Regions from separate parts of the Homo sapiens genome. Here all the other regions are linked to region 2. Evidence: promoter capture Hi-C in 16 types of primary human blood cells and fetal thymus (Javierre and others, 2016). All regions are on one chromosome and are shown on one strand. The core of a region is centred on a gene start or on the middle of the fragment in contact, and the rest is flanking DNA. Distances in the headings are between cores, read along the strand shown.

What was found. The method cuts DNA at HindIII sites, captures the fragments that hold promoters and counts their contacts. A CHiCAGO score of 5 or more calls a contact.
Region 1: a contact is called between the fragment with the promoter of SMU1 here and the fragment with the promoter of IFT74 in region 2, in 7 of 17 cell types (activated CD4 T cells, naive CD4 T cells, non-activated CD4 T cells and 4 more). The highest score is 10.0, in activated CD4 T cells.
Region 3: a contact is called between a fragment that was not itself captured here and the fragment with the promoter of IFT74 in region 2, in 1 of 17 cell types (total B cells). The highest score is 5.6, in total B cells.
Region 4: a contact is called between a fragment that was not itself captured here and the fragment with the promoter of IFT74 in region 2, in 2 of 17 cell types (fetal thymus and total CD8 T cells). The highest score is 12.3, in fetal thymus.
Region 5: a fragment that was not itself captured here is called in contact with the fragment with the promoter of IFT74 in region 2 in 1 of 17 cell types (naive CD8 T cells); the score reaches 6.8 in naive CD8 T cells.
Region 6: a contact is called between a fragment that was not itself captured here and the fragment with the promoter of IFT74 in region 2, in 5 of 17 cell types (total CD8 T cells, non-activated CD4 T cells, fetal thymus and 2 more). The highest score is 9.9, in total CD8 T cells.
Region 7: a contact is called between a fragment that was not itself captured here and the fragment with the promoter of IFT74 in region 2, in 3 of 17 cell types (non-activated CD4 T cells, naive CD8 T cells and total B cells). The highest score is 13.1, in non-activated CD4 T cells.

Annotation. Positions count from the first base shown.
Region 1 is chr9:33,075,235-33,077,934 of GRCh38, reverse strand. It overlaps SMU1 (SMU1 DNA replication regulator and spliceosomal factor), which reads left to right and starts at 1,261. Exons shown (of 12, transcript NM_018225.3): 1 at 1,261-1,352. The coding sequence starts at 1,327. RefSeq lists enhancers at 880-1,079, 1,250-1,399. The HindIII fragment of the contact is 3,581 bases long and covers 1-2,304 here.
Region 2 is chr9:26,954,796-26,957,736 of GRCh38, reverse strand. IFT74 (intraflagellar transport 74) reads right to left here and starts at 1,325. Exons shown (of 20, transcript NM_025103.4): 1 at 1,221-1,325. IFT74-AS1 (IFT74 antisense RNA 1) reads left to right here and starts at 1,430. Exons shown (of 2, transcript NR_121605.1): 1 at 1,430-1,610; 2 at 1,722-1,957. RefSeq lists a silencer at 1-46 and enhancers at 643-1,377, 1,378-2,113. The HindIII fragment of the contact is 1,304 bases long and covers 501-1,804 here.
Region 3 is chr9:21,021,873-21,024,572 of GRCh38, reverse strand. The region is part of intron 3 of HACD4 (3-hydroxyacyl-CoA dehydratase 4); the gene reads left to right. Among named protein-coding and RNA genes, the nearest start is that of HACD4, 8.4 kb to the left of the region's middle. The HindIII fragment of the contact is 4,309 bases long and covers 1-2,700 here.
Region 4 is chr9:20,622,692-20,625,638 of GRCh38, reverse strand. No RefSeq gene overlaps it. Among named protein-coding and RNA genes, the nearest start is that of MLLT3, 1.7 kb to the right of the region's middle. RefSeq lists silencers at 2,542-2,681, 2,702-2,947. The HindIII fragment of the contact is 1,902 bases long and covers 502-2,403 here.
Region 5 is chr9:33,036,642-33,039,447 of GRCh38, reverse strand. DNAJA1 (DnaJ heat shock protein family (Hsp40) member A1) reads right to left here. Exons shown (of 9, transcript NM_001539.4): 7 at 2,759-2,806; 8 at 2,333-2,433; 9 at 1-763. The coding sequence ends at 545. Among named protein-coding and RNA genes, the nearest start is that of DNAJA1, 13 kb to the right of the region's middle. The HindIII fragment of the contact is 2,491 bases long and covers 252-2,742 here.
Region 6 is chr9:33,003,167-33,006,009 of GRCh38, reverse strand. It overlaps a transcript of APTX not described here. Among named protein-coding and RNA genes, the nearest start is that of APTX, 3.0 kb to the right of the region's middle. The HindIII fragment of the contact is 833 bases long and covers 963-1,795 here.
Region 7 is chr9:19,063,233-19,066,056 of GRCh38, reverse strand. HAUS6 (HAUS augmin like complex subunit 6) reads left to right here. Exons shown (of 17, transcript NM_017645.5): 13 at 2,477-2,543. It also overlaps SCARNA8. Among named protein-coding and RNA genes, the nearest start is that of RRAGA, 15 kb to the right of the region's middle. The HindIII fragment of the contact is 222 bases long and covers 1,267-1,488 here.

The DNA.
Region 1 (2,700 bases), core at 12-2,511, 6.1 Mb before region 2:
TCAACTAATTACATCAAACGAAAGCAACATTGGCTGGGCGCAGTGACTCACGCCTGTAATCCCAGCACTTTGGGAGACCGAGGCGGGCGGATCACGAGGTCAGGAGTTCGAGAACAGCCTGACCAACATAGTGAAATCCCATCTCTACTAAAAATACAAAAAATTAGCCTGGCGTGATGGCAAGAAACCTGTAATCCCAGCTACTCCGGAGGCTGAGGCAAGAGAATCTCCTGAACCCGGGAGGCAGAGTTTGCAGTGAGCCGAGATCGCGCCATTGTGCTCTTCAGCCCGGGCGACAGTGCGAGATTCCGTCTCAAAAAAAAAGCAATCTTTCCAAACCAGTGCTCTTTCTTTTCTTTCTTTTCTTTTCTTTCTTTTCTTCTTTCTTTTCTTTGCTTTTCTTACTACAATCTTATCACCACTACTTTTCTTTTCTTCTTTTGAGACGGAATTTTGCTCTCCTTGCCCAGGCTGGAGTGCAATGGTGTGATCTCGGCTCACCGCATCCACCTCCAGAGGTGAAACGATTCTCCTGCCACAGACTCCCGAGTAGCTGAGATTACAGGCGCCCCCGCCACCACGCCCGGCTAATTTTTTGTATTTTTAGTAGAGACGGGGCTTCACCATGTTGCCCAGGCTGGTCTCGAACTCGCGCGCTGGGAGTACAGGCGCGAGCCACCGCGCTCCGCCCCAGCGCTTTTCTTTTTCAGTACATTTGTGAGCTGTATGGCGCCCGGTGCTTTTTTTCTTTTTCTTTTCTATCTTTCTTTTTTTTTTTTTTTTTTTTTTGAGACGGAGTTGCGCTCTTGTTTTCCATGCTGGGGTGCAATGGCGCGATCTCGGCTCACCGCAACCTCCGCCTCCTGGGTTCAAGCGATTCTCCTGCCTCAGGCTCCCGAGTAGGGATTACAGGCATGCGCCACTACGCCCGGCTAATTTTGTATTTTTAGTAGAGACGGGGGTTTCTCCATGTTGGTCAGGCTGGTCTCGAACTCACGACCTCAGGTGATCGCCCGCCTCGGCCTTCCAAAGTGTTGGGATTACAAGCGTGAGCCACCGCACCCGGCTCCGGCCTGCTTTTAAACAGTCTTCCTCCTGATGCGTATTTCTCTGGGGCAGGGGCATAAACTCCGCCCTCTGACAGCCCCTGAGGGCTCCGCCCCTACGCGAACCTCGCCCCTACTCTTCGTTCACTCTATCTCCAGAGCGGGAGCCAGACGCCGACCCAAGCGGAAGTGACGTTAGGTGTCCGCCGGAGGTGTCGTTGGTGTGTTGCGCGACTGGCCTTGAGGGAGAGCTGGGGCCTGCTCCCGGAGAGATACGGCTATGTCGATCGAAATCGAATCTTCGGAGTGAGTCCTGCGGTGGGGATGTTCGCGCCTTGCCGGGGGCCTGGAGGTTAAGGGTGTGGGGCGGAGGGTACTCGGGAGAAGGCATCCGAGAGGCCAGGGAGTGGAGGGCCATTTCCTTGCCCCCAAAGAAGCATCTTGGATCTCGCTACCTCGGAGGTGGGCCCACAGGAAAGTAGCAGCTCTCAGACGTGAAGCCCAAAACCTCGAGGGAGGTGGCACGGGTGGGGAAAACACACCTTGCAGACCTAAGTTCTGTCCTTGGCCGACTGCTGGCGCGCTGTGATTGACCAAATTAAGGATCCACTCTGGACTCCAGTCTAATTATCTGCGCAAGGGGATAGGTCTCTTTAAGCCTTGCTTCTCTCCCTGTCCAGCTTATGCAATGTGATTCGTTGTCTCTGCTTATACGGCCCCTTTGCTTTTCTCTGCCTAGCGTTTATCACTCAGTATTGTCACTGTTTGATAACCTCACCCCAAACTAGCCTTTGTCGGTGCCTAGGAGCTCCTTTTCCTTGTGGTCTCAGTGTCTAGCATACCTTAGAGGAAGAGTTAATTGCTTTTGGAATGAATGAACAACTAGCTTTTGGAATGAATGAACAACTATCAGGCCCGATCTGGCACGGAATTTTGGGTTGTCTGGGGAGAGACAGACTGGAGACTGGGCTAGAAAGAAAAATTTTCAAGGAATAGGGGATGAGAATTAGTGACTAAAGAAGACCTTAGTGTGCTTTTCCAGAACTCCATCCTCCACCTGTCCTTGCCAACACTTAATAATAATTAAATTAACAGACATAAAAATTGTGTCTGAGTGTAAGGGAGGGAGAGGACCTTTTTTGGAGACTTTTCATAGGAGGAAGGGAGGTTTATGCATTCAGCAAATACTGAAATGATGTTAACCTACTTGTCCAAGGTCACATAACTTTGATTCAAATCCCAGACTATCTTCAAAGCTTCTAGCTCTTTATGTATTCATTTCTGTTTGAAGGTAGGGAATTTGATTTTGGCTATGTCAAATGTGAGCTGTTTGAGGAGAGAGATGACTTATTTTGGGAGTGTAAAATGGAAGTCAACGGACATGTGCTAAGGAAGATAGTATCATAGCAGAATAACAGGGGTCTAAGTCTGGATACCTGCATACCTCATAAAGGGGCCATGAGAGAAAAAGACTACTGCAGGTAGCAGCAATCAGTTCCCTTTTTTTTTTTTGAGACGGAGTCTCACTCTGTCACCCAGGCTGGAATGCAGTGGCGCGATCTCCGCTCACTGCAAGCACCGCCTCCCACGTTCACGCCATTCTCCTGCCTCAGCCTCCCGAGTAGCTGGGACTACAGGCGCCCACCACCATGCC
Region 2 (2,941 bases), core at 76-2,575:
ACTTTTCTGACTTTTCTTAGCATTACTCGTAATCAGTCCTTGGACTGCTTCTATCCTTTCTACAGTCATGCATCTTTATAACTCCAACTATGTGTACGGCTCACTAATCAATGTCTACAGTTCTGCCCTTTCAACTGGGCACCAATTTTGAGTTTTCAATTGTTTATCTGAAATTTCCATTCAGATATCTCATTTGAATATGTTCACATCAATCTTCCTGACCCCACTAGCTCCCTGATTCTAATTCCTTGCCATTTTGAACTCTATGTACAAAGCAAAAGAATTTCAAATGGAAAAAGGAATTTCATGAAATGACTCTTTGAAAAGGAAGACGGTGTATGATCAAAATGGTTTTTCCAGAAGAAAACGAGTACAATAAACATCTCTTTCCAGTGGAAAAGATATTACTCTAGGTTTCCTGCTAACTTTGAGAAAATGTACAACATAAAAAATTTCACCCAATTTTCTTTGCCACCGTTTTACTGTGGTGAAAAAAAGCTTACCATTATATTATTACCAGTGGGATTAAGAGGCGGGCATTAGCAACAAATATACCACTAACTTCGGGGTTATTCAATCAAAGAGTCACACAATTTCCAATTATTCACACAGAGAGGCAGCCTGGCCTTTGGATCCAGAATGATTAGCGATACAAACTAGTGCTGACAAAGTTAGCGGCTGCATAATCTTGCCACCTTAATTAACCCCTCAGGATTTCATCTTCTGTAAAACAGAAGGGTGACATCTACCTTGCAGGGCTGTTGTGAAGACGATAAGTATTACATTTAAAACATCTGCTTCTAATTATTATTACTATCGTTATCCTCCCTAAGCCAACCATTCTCACACAGGTGAATAAGTGGAAAGTTGCTAACTGCCCGCACTGTGATCAACAGACAGAAATAAGTCCCTTCCACTGTAAGAGGCAGAAATGTATTGCTTTGACTAAAATCCTTCAGCCCATCGCGGTCCTTCCCTCTGCTCTGTGCTTGGCGGGTCTCCTGCGGGGGGTCGGGGAGGGGTCGGGCTGTTGGAGGAGGTCTGTTCGCAACCTTCGCTCGACTAGAATTGGTACATGCCTGGCCTGGCTACAGGCCCGACGGTAACAGTTAGCTAAGACCGAGTTTGAATTTGTTTTGTTTGGAGCGGATCAGCATCTCCAAGGCAAGAGAACAGACGTGGGAGGGAGGGAGGAAGAGATGGGACCCGGGGATTCTCACCTCCGCCGGCGCGGAAGGAGGGCAGTTGCCCGGCTCGCGGGTGCCTTAACTTCTTTCTGAGGCCCACGCTCAGTTTTCCTCGGCTCTCAGGCCTACCCACTAACTGCCGTGCGCCGCGGCGTATCCCGGCAACGGGGGCGGGATAGCGGAGGCTCCTCATCCTGAGTGACCAATCCTCCGCCTCAGCCCTTGGTTACACACGGAGCTCTCGCGAGAATTGAGGATATGTTTGTTTCTTCACCACGCTTCAGTGCTTTTTGGAAAAAGTGGAAAACAGCGGGGCGGCTGGAAGACAAACATTTTATGTGAACGTTTGGTTTTCTTGATAATCAGAGCAACCTCCGTGTGCCTTACTTGAAGTAACTCTAGCGAGTTTTGCTATGTCCCTAGGTAACCTCACGTCGGCTAACGTTGTTAACAGGTTACATTTGAAGTTAAGTGGTAGGCAGCATTGTGCAATTTTCTAAACTCCTAATTTGTGGTAGTTTTCCTTCCTATTAGGACGGCATAGCGTACACAACGCATCATGAAGTATGGATGCGATTCTGGCACCAACTGTTCCGTTCCTGCTTTCACCAGAAGCTTTGCGTCTTTAAGCTTCCTTTCATTAGAATTTGGATCCAAGTTTGTGGGGAAGACTGTGAATTCAATGGAAAGTGTCCTTTTTTTTTTTTTTTTTAATTTAAGAACTACTTCACCTTAAATCCCACTTCTCTAATAAAATAACTTTTACTGTATGTTTCCTTCCAATCTTCATTGATAACAGCTTAAATGTGATTGCATATGTATTGGGATTTTAACATTATTTTACACATTATTTCCAACTTGCCTGCCTTCGAGGAGTTAAAAATCAATACAACACAAAATGAGATAATGTTATGTGGCTGAATTCTCCCTTAGTTTGTGAAACATTTTCATGTAATTATCTCATTTGAGCTCACCCTATTTGCAGTGGCCATTTGTCATCCTTTTGGCAGAGTTTCTCCCTTACCCTGCCCCCCAACACCCTTACAGGAACTGAAAGTGACAGATACTGGCTTTCCTAGTCTTCCTTATTACTGGGACATGAGTATTATTGCTTGCTAGACTCTCCAATCTAATTTGGTGGACTCAACTCAAACTTGAATGACAACCAGAAGCAGGACTTCAGAGAGTCTGTTGAAGTAAGGGTGACAGCCGCAGTAACTACATCGTTTCCGAGACTGCAATGTTCTATCACCAGCAACCAGTGTCCAGCATCAGTGTGTTGTTGCAAGCTGCAGTGTTAGGTACTCAGAGGCTTTATTGGGAGGAGAACCTCTAGCTTGTTTCTTCAGCTTCTGGGAGAGTCTGTGAGCTGCTTAATGTCCTTTAATAAATTCATTTTCAGCTTTTATATCATTTATAGATGATTTCTGTTCCTTGCACTTAAGGACCCTGACAGATATTAACAGTTGAAATTGGCAGGACAGATACTATTATCCAAGTTTTAAAGAGATTAAATAATTTGCTTAAGCTCATTTAGGTAGTAAGTATTGATCCCTGTCCCCATTTCTTTTTCATGATGAAAAAGGAATAGAGAATAGGAATACATCTCACTTATTTGCCTCTGAGCTTCCTTAGAGTAGGCACCATATCTTATTTGACTTTGGATCATTATGTATTAGGTTCTGTTGCTTTTAAGGTTATATCAAATTGGAATTAGGTTATATCAAGTTGTAATTTGGTTAGTAATTAGGTTA
Region 3 (2,700 bases), core at 152-2,651, 5.9 Mb after region 2:
TGATTTCTTGGAGGAATTCCAGAATATACACCTGATTTTAATCACTGCTAATTAAAACTTTAATGGCTTATAGAAATATAACTGTAATCAAAGAACCAAATCTTGGTTTGGCAATTTAAACATAGGGGCAAATATACATTGAGACCTTTTATTCAAAGGCGAGTTTGCAAAATCTGATGTTATCGGAGTGCAAATGATTTTTAAGTCTTCAGTTACTGGGAGAGATAAGTCAGAGATCACTGTGTTAGGGAAGAAAATTATTCTCTTCCTGAGCTGAATATTATCAATTTTTGTTGTGGTTGTTTGGCTTCCTCTTTTTATCTCTTTTAAGATTTTATTTGGCCCCTATTTCTTTTATTAATTTATCATCCTTTTTGTGGTTCCCACAATGGAAATGGTGTTGGATAAAGGTTCAGAAACATGCCTTTGTGCCCAAAGTTTCATTTTCTCCCTCCTTCCTATATTAGAATTATGCAGACAATTAGAATTCCCTCATTATGGGATGGCGCTGAGGCCCCTGCTTTAAAATAATGAAACAAAACTTTCAGATTGTGTAATCATTCTTGGTTTTCCTGTTTCCCCATTTTTAAATGAAGAAACTGTAGTTAAGAGAGTGGCTGCTTTTAAGTAAGCTAAAAAACCATGTCGATACAGTTGTGATGTGATTTTGATTATTACCTTCAAGAGATAGTTAAGTGGGCCAGGTGCAGTGGCTCACGCCTGTAATCCCAGCACTTTGGGAGGCTGAGGCGGTCGGATCACGAGGTCAAGAGATCGAGACCATCCTGGCCAACATGGTGAAACCCTGTCTCTACTAAAAATACAAAAAAATTAGCTGGACGTGGTGGCGCGTGCCTGTGATCCCAGCTACTCGGGAGGCTGAGGCAGGAGAATCACTTGAACCCTGGAGGCAGAGATTACAGTGAGCAGAGATCAGGCCACTGCACTCCAGCCTGGGTGACGGAGCAAGACTCCGTCTCAAAAAAAAAAAAAAAAAAGATTGTTAAGTGACAACTGAATTCTTCTTGGGGGGAACTGGTCCTCCACAATATCAAGAGAAATAATTCCAACCAACAGTAGGAACTGATTAGCTAGTTGAGCAATTGGCATTACACATATCAAGTAGTGGTGGTGTGTCCACAGGGGATAGGTTTGTTTTTGTGCTGTGTTTCTGTTTCTTGTGCATTTATTTTTTAATTTTTTAAATTATACTTTAAGTTCTAGGGTACCTGTGTACAGTGTGCAGGTTTGTTACATATGTATACATGTGCCATGTTGGTGTGCTGCACCCATTAACTCGTCATTTATATTAGGTATATCTCCTAATGCTATTCCTCCCCCCTCCCCCCACCCCACAACAGGCCCCTGTGTGTGATATTCCCCTTCCTGTGTCCAAGTGTTCTCATTGTTCAGTTCCCACCTGTGAGGGAGAACATGTGGTGTTTGTTTTTCTGTCCTTGCGATAGTTTGCTCAGAATGATGGTTTCCAGCTTCATCCATGTCCCTACAAAGGACATGAACTCATCATTTTTTATGGCTGCATAGTATTCGGTGGTGTATATGTGCCACATTTTCTTAATCCAGTCTATCATTGATGGGCATTTGGGTTGGTTCCAAGTCTTTGCTATTGTGAATAGTGCCGCAATAAACATACGTGTGCATGTGTCTTTATAGCAGCATGATTTATAGTCCTTTGGGTATATACCCAGTAATGGGATGGCTGGGTCAAATGGTATTTCTAGTTCTAGATCCTTGAGGAATCGCCACACTGACTTCCACAACGGTTGAACTAGTTTACAGTCCCACCAACAGTGTAAAAGTGTTCCTATTTCTCCACATCCTCTCCAGCACCTGTTGTTTCCTGACTTTTTAATGATTGCCATTCTAACTGGTGTGAGATGGTATCTCATTGTGGTTTTGATTTGCATTTCTCTATGGCCAGTGATGATGAGCATTTTTTCATGTGTCTGTTGGCTGCATAAATGTGTTCTTTTGAGAAGTATCTGTTCATATCCTTTGCCCACTTTTTGATGGGGTTGATTTTTTTTCCTGTAAATTTGTTCTTTGTAGATTCTGGATATTAACCCTTTGTCAGATGGGTAGATTGTAAAAATTTTCTCCCATTCTGTAGGTTGCCTGTTCACTCTGATGGTAGTTTCTTTTGCTGTACCGGAGCTTTTTAGTTTAATTAGATCCCATTTGTCAATTTTGGCTTTTGTTGCCATTGCTTTTGGTGTTTTAGTCATGAAGTCCTTGCCCATGCCTATGTCCTGAGTGGTATTGCCTAGGTGTTCTTCTAGGGTTTTTATGGTTTTAGGTCAAACGTTTCAGTCTTTAATACATCGTGAATTAATTTTTGTATAAGGTTTAAGGAAGGGATTCAGTTTCAGCTACATATGGCTAGCCAGTTTTCCTAGCACCATTTATTAAATAGGGAATCCTTTCCCCATTTGTTGTTTTTGTCAGGTTTGTCAAAGATCAGATGGTTGTAGATGTGTGGTATTACTTCTGAGGGCTCTCTTCTGTTCCATTGGTCTATATCTCTGTTTTGGTACCAGTACCATGCTGTTTTGGTTACTGTAGCCTTGTAGTATAGTTTGAAGTCAGGTAGCGTGATGCCTCTAGCTTTGTTCTTTTGGCTTAGGATTGTCTTGGTGATGCGGGCTCTTTTTTGGTTCCATATGAACTTTAAAGTAGTTT
Region 4 (2,947 bases), core at 203-2,702, 6.3 Mb after region 2:
AGGCCCTCTCTTTGTTCTGCCAGAAACATGGAAACTGGCTTTAGCTTCCAGACTAAAGAAAACAATTGCAAATAAAAAGGCTGGAGCCAAAATGATGGTGGTAGGGCAATGGTGATGGTAGTGGTGGTAGTGATCTGTCACAGACACTGTTCTCTTTTATTCTTCATCACGATTTTTATTTGATATGTTAATTACTTTTCTGATCTTCAAACTAACCCCATGGTGCTTCATACTGTGCTATATACAACAGTATGAATTTTGGTAAGATAATTATTCTTTGGATAAGTAGATGATTTTATCCCTCACCACTTCCATTTTAGTTATTATATTACTATTTCTGTATTTAGCACTGAAGTTTGTCTTAAAATTTCTTTACAGTACATTTTCTATAACCACATTGTCAAGTACACAAAAGGTTATTTTCCACATTTTTACCTCACGTTAAAGTGTGAAGATCTGCACAGGAAATTAATCGATTTTAATTGTTTTTAATGGCAAGCTTATTAAAATAGGTTGTAATTAATAAATTGACAGACTTGCATAAATTTCTTTGTCCAAAGTTGAAGGGAGAGTATTCAGTCTTGTGTTTTCTTTTCTTTCTTTTCTCCCCCTTCCTGATCTTTTTGTTGTGAAGGGGTCACGTAAGGACGTCCGTGGAAGAGCTCCGTGCGCCATCTACTGACGGAATCTAAATGTCCAGTATTTGGAGATTGGGAGTAACTACGTTGGGTTGTTAGAGCATTCTTTGAGGAAGGAGGGGTACTGGGAAAATACCCTTTCAGACTCTATGGCTTATTAGTGATTGCTGGAATAAATCTGAATTCAGCAAACACATAATTCAAAAAAGAGACCTCTATCTGTTGTGCGGGTACAAGTTTTGGAGACAATCTCAAGAGAGTCCGGTGGCTGGCGCCGGAAGAAGTTAAACCCTGAAATGAACTCAAACGGGGAATGGGATTGTTGTTTTTTGCCTGTGTCCTGAGCTACACTCGCTGTTAATGGTTACTTCTTAATAAGAAATGGCTTTACTAATGGCACGTCCAGATAACCTTTAGTTTCCAATACTATTATTACAAAGGACTGCTCTCAAATTTGATTATTTTATGAAAAGTTTAATAATGCACAATAAATAGGTCCCCCCTTCACGTAGATACTACCCACACAGCTTGTCTCTGCGAATATAAACGTAGTCCTTGTACATACATACAGACACAGCGACGCATATACCTACAGGATGATATGCAGTTATGTATATGTGTGTCAGTTGACAAATCTAAGCCCTTGGATTTAGATTAAAATGTTTCTACCTTCAGTCGTTTGCTCCATTCTATGCTAAATCCTGTAGAAGGCTGGGAAGAACTGGGGACCTCAAGCCAAAGAAGTTTCTTGATTATAACTGACAGGCAGCGGAATATCAGTTTTAGGGAATCAAAAGTTGAGTTGGAAGGCTGCTGGTTTGGAAACTAAGGTTGGTTCCAAGTGGTCCGACCTGATTCCCAGGATCTTTGTGAGAGCTGCTGGGAGAACTGAAAATTAACAGCGAGGACACAGGACGCCCTAGGTAACGTCCTCCCCGCTATTCTGCTCTTCTCAATTCAAGGGCCGAGACAACTTGCTTTTGTGGAAAAGGGAAGTAAAGGGAAAAGAGGAAAGCAAGGAAGTTCAGTCAGAAAGAGGAAGAGGGACAAAGAGGAAAGAAAGGGACAAAGAGGAAAGAAAGGGACAAAGAGGAAAGAAAGAGGGACAAAGAGGAAAGGCAAGGAGAAGAGAAGGAAAAATCAAGGTTCAGCAAGAAGTTGGAAGGCGAGGGAAAAAGGGGAGTAAAGAGAAGGCAAAAGAGGTCTAAGGGCTAGGAAGATGCAAGGATCTTTTTTTAACGAACCAAAGTCACATCCATCTTTCACTTTCAAATCAATCGTCTAGATCTTATCCGTTTCCTTTTTAAAGGTTATCTGCGTCTGTAAAGGAAGCCAGTAGTTGATACTCCTCTCCGCGCCCCACGCGTGGCCGCGCTGTTCTATCTCCGGCCACTGAGATCAAATACAACGCGAGTGAGAACATTTGCAGAGGCGCGACTCTGGGAACACTCCTGCGACTGGCTGTCACCCGGGAGTCTAACCGGATTAATACTCAGAGATGGATTACGCTGGTTGTCACCAATACGCCTAAAGATTATAATCCAATTTACGCACATTACAGTCAGTATTAACTTTATCTGCTATTTTAAGACTCCCGGTTGCCCCGCGCGTCCTCAGAGGACAATCCTCCACGTTCTGATGCAACTCAGTAGGCTGTCAGGAGGGGAAGCCCCCCGAAGAAAACAACTCCAAGCCTGGTCCCCGAGGGTCTGTACCCGGCACTCCCAGGTGTCTTGCTTTCACCTGGGCACCGCTTTATGAAGCTTCCCAGCCGGGGATTACCAAAGCGGAAGGCGTTCCCTTGCAAGGAAATAGCATCCTTGTTTCTCCCTTGTTCATTTCATTTTCAAATTTTCGGTGGCGGTGGCAGAAGGGCGGGGAGTGAGGGTGGCGGGCGGGTGCCTGTGAGTGGATGGGGCAGGGGGCCAGGGGATCGTTGCGGGTTAGAACAGCCTCAGTCATTGCTATTTTCATGCTCGTTTTTTGCAGGATGGCATTTCTCTCGCTCTCTTTAAGTAAGTTTGTTTGGGTGTGAGTTCTTGTCTTTTCAGCACAAAACCACAGAAATACGTGGTGGAAAGTAAAAGAAAGCCCACTCCCTCCTCCCCGTGCGTACTAGCTAAGGACTTGATTTAACACCCCCTCTCCGGCTGCTGAGGGCTCTAAGCAGTGGCTACATTCCAGCAGTTTTAATCCGTTTTTTATTGTAGGGCGAGCAGAGTTTACACAGGGGCTGGGATGGCTCCCCAGCTGGCCGCTCTCCCCACTCCTGCGTCCCCTCCCTGCCACCCCCCCAGCAGGAACCTGTT
Region 5 (2,806 bases), core at 248-2,747, 6.1 Mb before region 2:
CATTTTTATCACTGATACCACAGGATAAATTATATATTACGCCATCTTCAAGTAACAGCTGAGGCAACAGAATAAATGCAGAGGCATTACAATGAATCCCACTTAATATAAAGAACTATACAGACCAACACTTCTCTACAAAATTTTTTTTTCCTCATTGCCAGTTAAATACAGAGTTTTACTTTCATAGCTTAACAATGAAGGGTCATACACTGAAGCCAATACATATACCTAGCATTTCAGTCTAAGCTTGTCCACGTACATAGCTGAAGTCAATTACAAGGTTTGGCCTAGAAATGCTAGGGGAACTTCTTTGTAGTTTTTACAGGTATTAAACTTCATCTTGCACACTGAAGTCATCATACATACAGGGCAAAATCAGAGCTTTTATATTTGCGTTTATTCTTCATTTAACTTTTTAAAACACTACTATAGTTTATTAAAACAAAAACAAGAGCAAGTAGTGAGCATATTATGATTACAGTCCTTCACTCATTCACTACTGCACATTAAATGCCAGCAGTGAGTGTTATTCACTGGCCCATTAAGAGGTCTGACACTGAACACCACCTCTGGGATGATGTTCATCATCCTCATATGCTTCTCCATTGTAGTGGCGCCGTCTTTCCTGATTTGGATCAAAGTCCACCAGTTCTACTTGGTCCATCTCATCAGTCTCTTCCACTTCCTTCCTCTCGGGTAGGAGTTTTTCCAGCAAAGACAGTTTATCAGGAGAGAGAAAGCCATTCTCAGGAAAGTTTACCTTCAAAAGAAACTTTCACTGTTCAATCTGATTTCATCATTAGCTCCCTTAGAGTATCATGGACCCATTTTCCCCAGAAAAACACATGTAAACACGTAATATTTAGGTGAATCTGCCAATCTCAGGTTAGAACAGGCTCTAAAAAGGCACAGTGCATAGCACACTCTGAACTAGAGTTCAAGGATTATGACCAGAAGTCAGGCTTTATTAAAAATGATTGTATTAAATAAAACTGCACTTTAACAACCATTGTTCTATCCAGCAAACTGACTTTTTAATACCAAAACCCATCCTGCAACAGCCTAACCCTTCTTACGACATATTTAAACAAAGCTATTCTTACTCTCAAAAGGGTAGTTCTTCCTTACCAAAGATGTTTTTAGGCCAGGCGCGGTGGCTCATACAATTGGGATTACAAATCCCAACACTTTGGGAAGCTGAGATGGGCAGATCACCTGAGGTCAAGAGTTTGAGACCAGCCTGGCCAATATGGTGAAACCCCATCTCTACTAAAAAGCCCAGCGTGGTGGCGGGCACCTGTATTCCCAGCTACTCAGGAGGCTGAGGCAGGAGAACTGCTTGAACCCAGGAGGTGGAGGTTACAGTGATCCAGGATCGCACCACTGCACTCCACCTTGGGTGACAGAACAAGACTCCCGTCTCAAAAAGGAAAAAAAAAAAAAAAAGTTTTAATTAATATTTTTATGGTGACAGGCCAATTTAAGACTCAGGAAAATGACTGGATTGCTTTATACCTATTAACAAATCAAGCATTACACTATTTTGCCAAGAAATCTGCAATTATTATAAAGCACCTCTCAACTTTAAGATGCCAGTTACAACCTTTCATTAGTAAAATACCCACTTGTCCCACACACCCTTCCCACAACCTATCTTTAAATATCCAATTAATGATGCAAAAAACCCCATCCTCAACTTGTTAACAAAGAATGCTCAACATGACAGAAGTAGTTATTAGGTAAATTTTCTTTTTTCTTTTTTTGAGACAGGGTCTCATTCTGTCACCCAGGTTGAAGTACAGTGACACGATCTTGATTCACTGCAGCCTTGACCACCTAGGCTCAAGCAATCCTCCCACCTCAGCCTCCCGAGTAGCTGGGACTACAGGTGTGTGCCACCATGCCTGGCTAATTTTTGTACTTTTTGTAGAGATGGGGTTTTGCCATGTTGCCCAGGCTGGCCTTTAACTCCTGAGCTCAAGCAATCCACCTGTCTTGGCCTCCCAAAGCACTGGGATTATAGGTGTGTGCCAGTGGCACGTGGCCAGATCCATATATTTCTTGCTGTGGAAAAATGTAAGTTTCAGGTTCTGAGGCATTCAGAAATTTTAATTTTTTTTTTTTTTTGTTTTTTTAAAGAGACAGGGTTTCACTATGTTGCCCAGGCTGTTCTCAAAACTCCAGGGCTCAAGGGATCCTCCTGCCTCAGCCTCTCAAAATGCGGGGATTACAGGCATGAGCTACTTGCACCTGGCTGAAATTTTACTTTTTTATCAGATTTTAGTAAGCCAATTGTTCTCAAGTATTCTTAAAGTACATTACAGCTTACCTTAAATTCGATGATTAGGCGACCCTTTTCATATGGTCTACGATAAATTGGCATGCCTTCATTTAGTACACACTTGATATCTCCATGCTTGACAATCTGACCTAAAAACATTGAAGCCAAGTTCTTCCTTAAGTATGGTCACATTTTTATGAGGCAGGGAATATAAAGAACAGAGCACTGTCCTAGCTCATTGGCAGGAGTAAAACTTACGTGGCAAAGCAATCCTGTTACCTTTCACTTATGGGTTTTCCAAGGGCTGACAAGAGAGCCAAGACCTTATAACTTCATCTAAGCCCAGAGAAGGATATGTAACCGAGAAAGAAAAACAATGGGTTTCCCTCAGTGCCTATACTACACTTTGTTAACAGGAGACAAGGAAAATACTAGAATAGAAAAGAGAAGTTTAAGCTTGCCTAGTTCCCATACCTGGATGAGAGGTGATGACGATGGTTCGGTTGTCAAGAGTAGATATTG
Region 6 (2,843 bases), core at 130-2,629, 6.0 Mb before region 2:
TATACTTCCTGATTTCAAAAAGTATTACAAAGCTATAGTAATCAAAACAGTGCAGTACTAGTGTAAAGACAGACATACAGACTGATGGAATACAATAGAAATCCCAGAAGTAAATCCTTGCATAAATGATTAAATGATATTCAGTAAGTATGTCAATACCATTCAGTGAGGAAAGGGCAGTCTTTTCAACAAATGATATTGTTAAAATCTGGGTATCCACATGCAAAAAATTGAAGTTGGAGCCTTACCTTACATAGTACAGAAAATGAACTCAAGGCCAGGCACAGTGTCTCACACCTGTAATGTCAGCACTTTGGGAGGCTGAGGCAGGAGGATTGCTTGAGCCCAGGAGTTCAAGATCAGCCTGGGCAACATAGCAAGACCTCTGTCTCTATTAAAAAAAAAATTAGCCAGGCTTGGTGGGACATGCTTGTAGTCCCAGCTACTTGGGAGGCTGAGGTGGGAGGATTGTTTGAGTCTGGGTGGTCAAGGCTGCAGTAAGCTGTGATTGCATCACTGCACTCCAGCCTGGGCAACAGAGCAAGACTCTGTCTCACAAAAACAAAAACAAAAACAAAAAACAAAAAAATAAAACCACACCTCAAAAATGGATCAAAGACCTAAACATAAGACCTAAAACTATAAAACTCTTAGAAAACATAAGGGAAAAGTTTCATGACAGATTTGGCAATGTTTTCTTGGATATAACACCAAAAGACAGGCAGCAAAAGTAAAAATAGGTAAATTAAAGTACTTCACAATTAAGTTTTGTGCATCCAGGGATACAGCCAGCAAGCAGAGTGAAAAGCACCCTATGAAATGGGAATCTTATATTTGATCAGAGGTCAATATCCAGAATATATAAAGAACTCCTACAACAAAACAAAACAAAAATAACCCCATTAAAAAATGAAGTACTTGAATAGACATTTCTCCAAATACATACAAATAGACAGGAAGCTTATGAAAAGATCAACATCACTAATCATTAGGGAAATACAAAGCAAAACCACAATGAGATACCATTTCACACCCATTAGGATGGCTGCTATCAAAAAAAAGTAACAAGCGGCCGGGCGCAGTGGCTCACACCTGTAATCCCAGCACTTTGGGAGGCCGAGGTGGGTGGATCACAAGGTCAGGAGTTTGAGATCAGCCTGGCCAATATGGTGAAACCCCATCTCTTCTAAAAAAAAAAAAAATACAAAAATTACCCGGGTGTGGTGGCAGGCACCTGTAGTCCCAGCTACTCAGGAGGCTGAGGCAGGAGAATCGCCTTAAGCCGCGAGGTGGAGGTTGCAGGGAGCCGAGATTGCACCACTGCACTCCAGCCTGGGTGACAGAGCGAGACTCCATCTCAAAAAAAAAAAAAAAAAAAAGGGTTGGCAAGAATGTGGAGAAATTGGAACTCTTGTACACTATTGGTAGAAATGTAAAATCATCCAGCTGCTATGGAAAACAGTGTGACAGTTCCTCAAAATATTAAAAATGGAATTACCATATAATCCAGCAGTTTCACTTCTGTGTATATATTCAAAATAATTGAAAGAAGAATTTTTAAAAATTGTTTCACATTAAAAACAAATTTCAGTGGCTTTAGGGGTACAAATGGTTTTTGGTTTCATGGATGAAGTGTATAATGGTGAAGTCTGAAATTTTAGTGTACCTATCACCCGAGTAATAGTTACACCCAATATGTAGTTTTTTAAAATCTCTCATCTTCCTCCCACTCTCTCCACTTCTGAATCTCCAATGAACATTATACCACTCTGTATGCCTTTACATACCCAAAGCTTAGCTGCCAATTATAAGTGAGAACATGTGGTATTTGGTTTTCCATTCCTGAGTTACTTCACTTAGAAAAATGGCCTCCAGTTCCATTCAAGTTGCTTCAAAAGACATTATTTCATTCTTCTTTATGGCTGAGTAGTATTCTGTGGTGTATATGTACGACATTTTCTTTATGCATTCATCAGTTCATGGGCATTTAGGTTGGTTCCATGTTCTTGCAATTGCAAATTGTGAAAACAGGATCTCAAAGAGATATTTATACACTCATGTTCATAGCAGCATTATTCACAATAGCCAAATGGTGGAATATCCACGGGTGGATGAATGGATAAAGTATGGTGTGTACATGCAATGGAGTGTTATTCAGCTTTAAAAAGGAACTTTTTACACATGATACAATGTGGATGAAACTTGAGGACATTATATTAAGTGAAATAAGCCAGTCGCAAATGGGCAAATACTGTCTGATTTTACTTACATGAGGTACCTAGAGTGGTCAGACTCATGAAAACTGTAAGTAGAATGGTGGTTGCCAGGTGGGGGAGGGAAAATAGGGAGCTATTTAATCGATACGGAGTTTTTTTTTTGAGGCAGAGTCTTGCTCTATCGCCCAGGCTGGAGTGCAGTGGAGTGATCTTGGCTCACTGCAACCTCTACCTCCCGGGTTCAAGCAATTCTTCTGCTTCAGCCTCCCAAGTAGCTGGGACTACAGGCGAGTTCCGCCACGCCAGGCTGGTCTTGAACTCCTGACCTCAGGTAATCCACCTGCGTTGGCCTCCCAAAGTGCTGGGATTACAGGTGTGAGCCACCGTGCCTGGCCGAGTTTCAGTTTTTCAAGATGAAAAAGTTCTGGTGATTAGCATGGCAATATGAAGTGCCTGAAAGTCTTCACTGCCTGCCATACCTTTAGCTATACATTGTGCCATGTGATCTTGCTTTTCTGGCCACTAATACACTATAGACAATGGACTAGGCCTAACAAGCAGGACGTGGAAACTCTGCCCAATTTTGCACATTATATAGTGAATGATGTAATTAGAATGATCCAATCC
Region 7 (2,824 bases), core at 128-2,627, 7.9 Mb after region 2:
GGCTGGGGCAGGAGAAGTGCTTGAACCCAGGAGGCGGAGGTTGCAGTGAGCCAGGATCCCGCCACTGCACTCCAGTGTGGGCGACAGAGTGAGAGTCTGTCTCAAAAAAAAAAAAAAAAAATTTTTGGCTGTGATCAAAGGATGGATACAATCTAAATACAAATTTTAAAATGCAGAATTCTAAAGTACAAAATTTTATTCATTAATTTATTTTTGAGGCGGAGTTTCGTTCCTGTTGCCCAGGCTGGAGTGCAATGGCACGATCTCGGCTCACTGCAACTGCTGCCTCCTGGGTTCAAGCGATTCTCTTGCTTCAGCCTCCCGAGTAGCTGGGATTACAGGCGCCCATGACCACACCTGGCTAATTTTTGTATTTTTAGTAGATATGGGGTTTCATCATGTTGGCGAGGCTGGTCTTCAACTCCTGACCTCAGGTGATCCGCTTGCCTCAGCCTCCCAAAGTGGTGGGATTACAGGCGTGAGCCACCGCGCCCAGCCCAAAATTTTAAAACATTAACATAGTATAAACGGTTGTGATTTTTTTTTGGCTGTCTGTATGTTTAAATAACATATTAACCAATTTTCATTGATAATAGCTTTGTAACACTACATTTATTTGTAGACTTGAATTTTCTCTCAATTTTATTTTTTACTACTATAAAAAGTGTGTTCCTCTTTTTTCTCTCTGTTCTTCCCTTAGGATAAATTTCCACAAGGGGATCACCATCCTTCTGTTTTGTTACAGTGCTAGGATTTCATAGGCCTCAATCTTGGCATGGCAAATGGACGAAGTATAAAGACTGAGCCAGGGCTGCTTTAAACTTGTCTTAGATTATGATGTTAGCAGGTTTAATAGCATGTTGCCAGTTCAGAAATGAGAGAGGGGAGGGTACAGAATGTTTCCATTGTTCTCTGCTATAAGGTTCCACAAGAATCATTCAAATGGAAACACTTGTCACCTATAGAACCCCATTCTCAAGTGGCATTTACTCATCGATTCCATCAATCCATCAAATAGTTAACATGTATGTATTGCACTACCAACCACTGTGTTAGCCTCTGGGAATAGCCTTAGGGAAAGACATAGCCTTTGTCCTTACCTTCTTGTGGTGGTGGCACCTTAGTGGCATTGGTCCATAGATTGCTGGCTCTGTTTCAGGGGGCTTTTTGATAATTTTAATGTTAAGTTTCCCTCAAAATCTAGTAGATGATCAATTCTTTGCCTTTGATATCTGGATTATATTTTGTCAATGCTACGTTGAAGCTTGAGTGATTGCAGTGATTTTGAATTATGTTTGGAACGTAGGCAAAGACTCTAAGAGTGCATATTTGAAAAAGTTTGAAAATTACATTTACTATGATATAAAATATTTGCAGTGCTATTAATTTTGTACTTCTAGTTATAAGAAGAAAGGAAAGTACCAACATGCATGCTGTTGAAAGCAGTCTTTGATAATCCTGTCTTATAGTAACTAGAGTAGAAAAGCTTTAGGCTTTTAACTTTTAAAGGTTTTTAAGACCAAAGTAAAAAAGTTACCATTTCTTTGAAGATTTTAGAATTTAATAACATTTTATAATTAGCATGAAAAGCTGCATAAATTTTAATATTTATCCAAAAGGGCAAGGGAATACAAAAGATTAACAAATACAACAGAATGTGGCAAACTAAAACTCTGACCTTATGACATTACTGTGAAACTGTAACATGTTTGCTATAGAGTAAAATTTAGCATATGAGAAATTGATTTTGGATATGAAGTATCAAGAGAATCTTAAAAATAAGTCTGCTGGGCCAGGTGTGGTGGCTCACACCTGTAATCCTAGGACTTTGGGAGGCCAAGGTGGGCGGATCACCTGAGGTCGGGAGTTTGAGACCAGCCTGACTCACATGGAGAAAGCCCATCTCTACTAAAAAGACAAAATTACTCAGGTGTTGTGGCGCATGCCTGTAATTCCAGCTACTCAGGAGGCTGAGGCAGGAGAATCGCTTGAACCTGGGAGGCGGAGGTCGTGGTGAGCCAAGATCGCGCCATTGCACTCTAGCCTGGGCAACAAGAGCGAAACTCCGTCTCAAAAAAAAAAAAAATAAAATAAAGGATCTGCTACAAAGAAACTGTGATTTGGAACCTGTGACATTGTAATAATGCAGTTCTAGTTAATTGAATCTGTTTTTAACCTGTGTTCAAGTTGTGGAGTATTCATTAAGTCACTTAACTCTTTCAAATCAAAATATTGTTGACTCAGTATGTGGTAAGTAAAGTCTTCATAATTGGGAGGCTGATACACAAATTGGGCTGAAATACTGCTCTACTTGTCACCATGCCTCCCTAGAATAAACTGCCTTTTGATGACCGGGACGAATTGAGTGAAATCGTAACGGACAGATACGGGGCAGACAGATTTTAGAATAGACTCGTAAAGGGAATGGAATTCTTTTCTCCTTATAACTTGGATTTGTTGTCTTTTTTCCTTTTAGCCCTGCCTCTTTCTTGTCGCAGTCAGTTTCATCATCAGATAGAAACAGTGTTACAGTACTTGAAAAGGTATATTTTAAAATAAGTCTCAATTAATTCTGGACCATACTAAATTATAAAATATTATTTATTTTTGTTGATACCACAGTTAAATTTAATTTCTAATTTCACATTTTCTACTATTTGTACATTTTGTACCATATCTACTTATATTCCTTATTGCTAAGTGGGAATATTGGAATTAGTTAATTCTGCCAGTGACATACAATTTCACAATAGTATTAACAACCTTTTATAGGTTCATGATAACCAGTGAACTGCTAATGAAGACAGCTTCAGGATCAGCCATG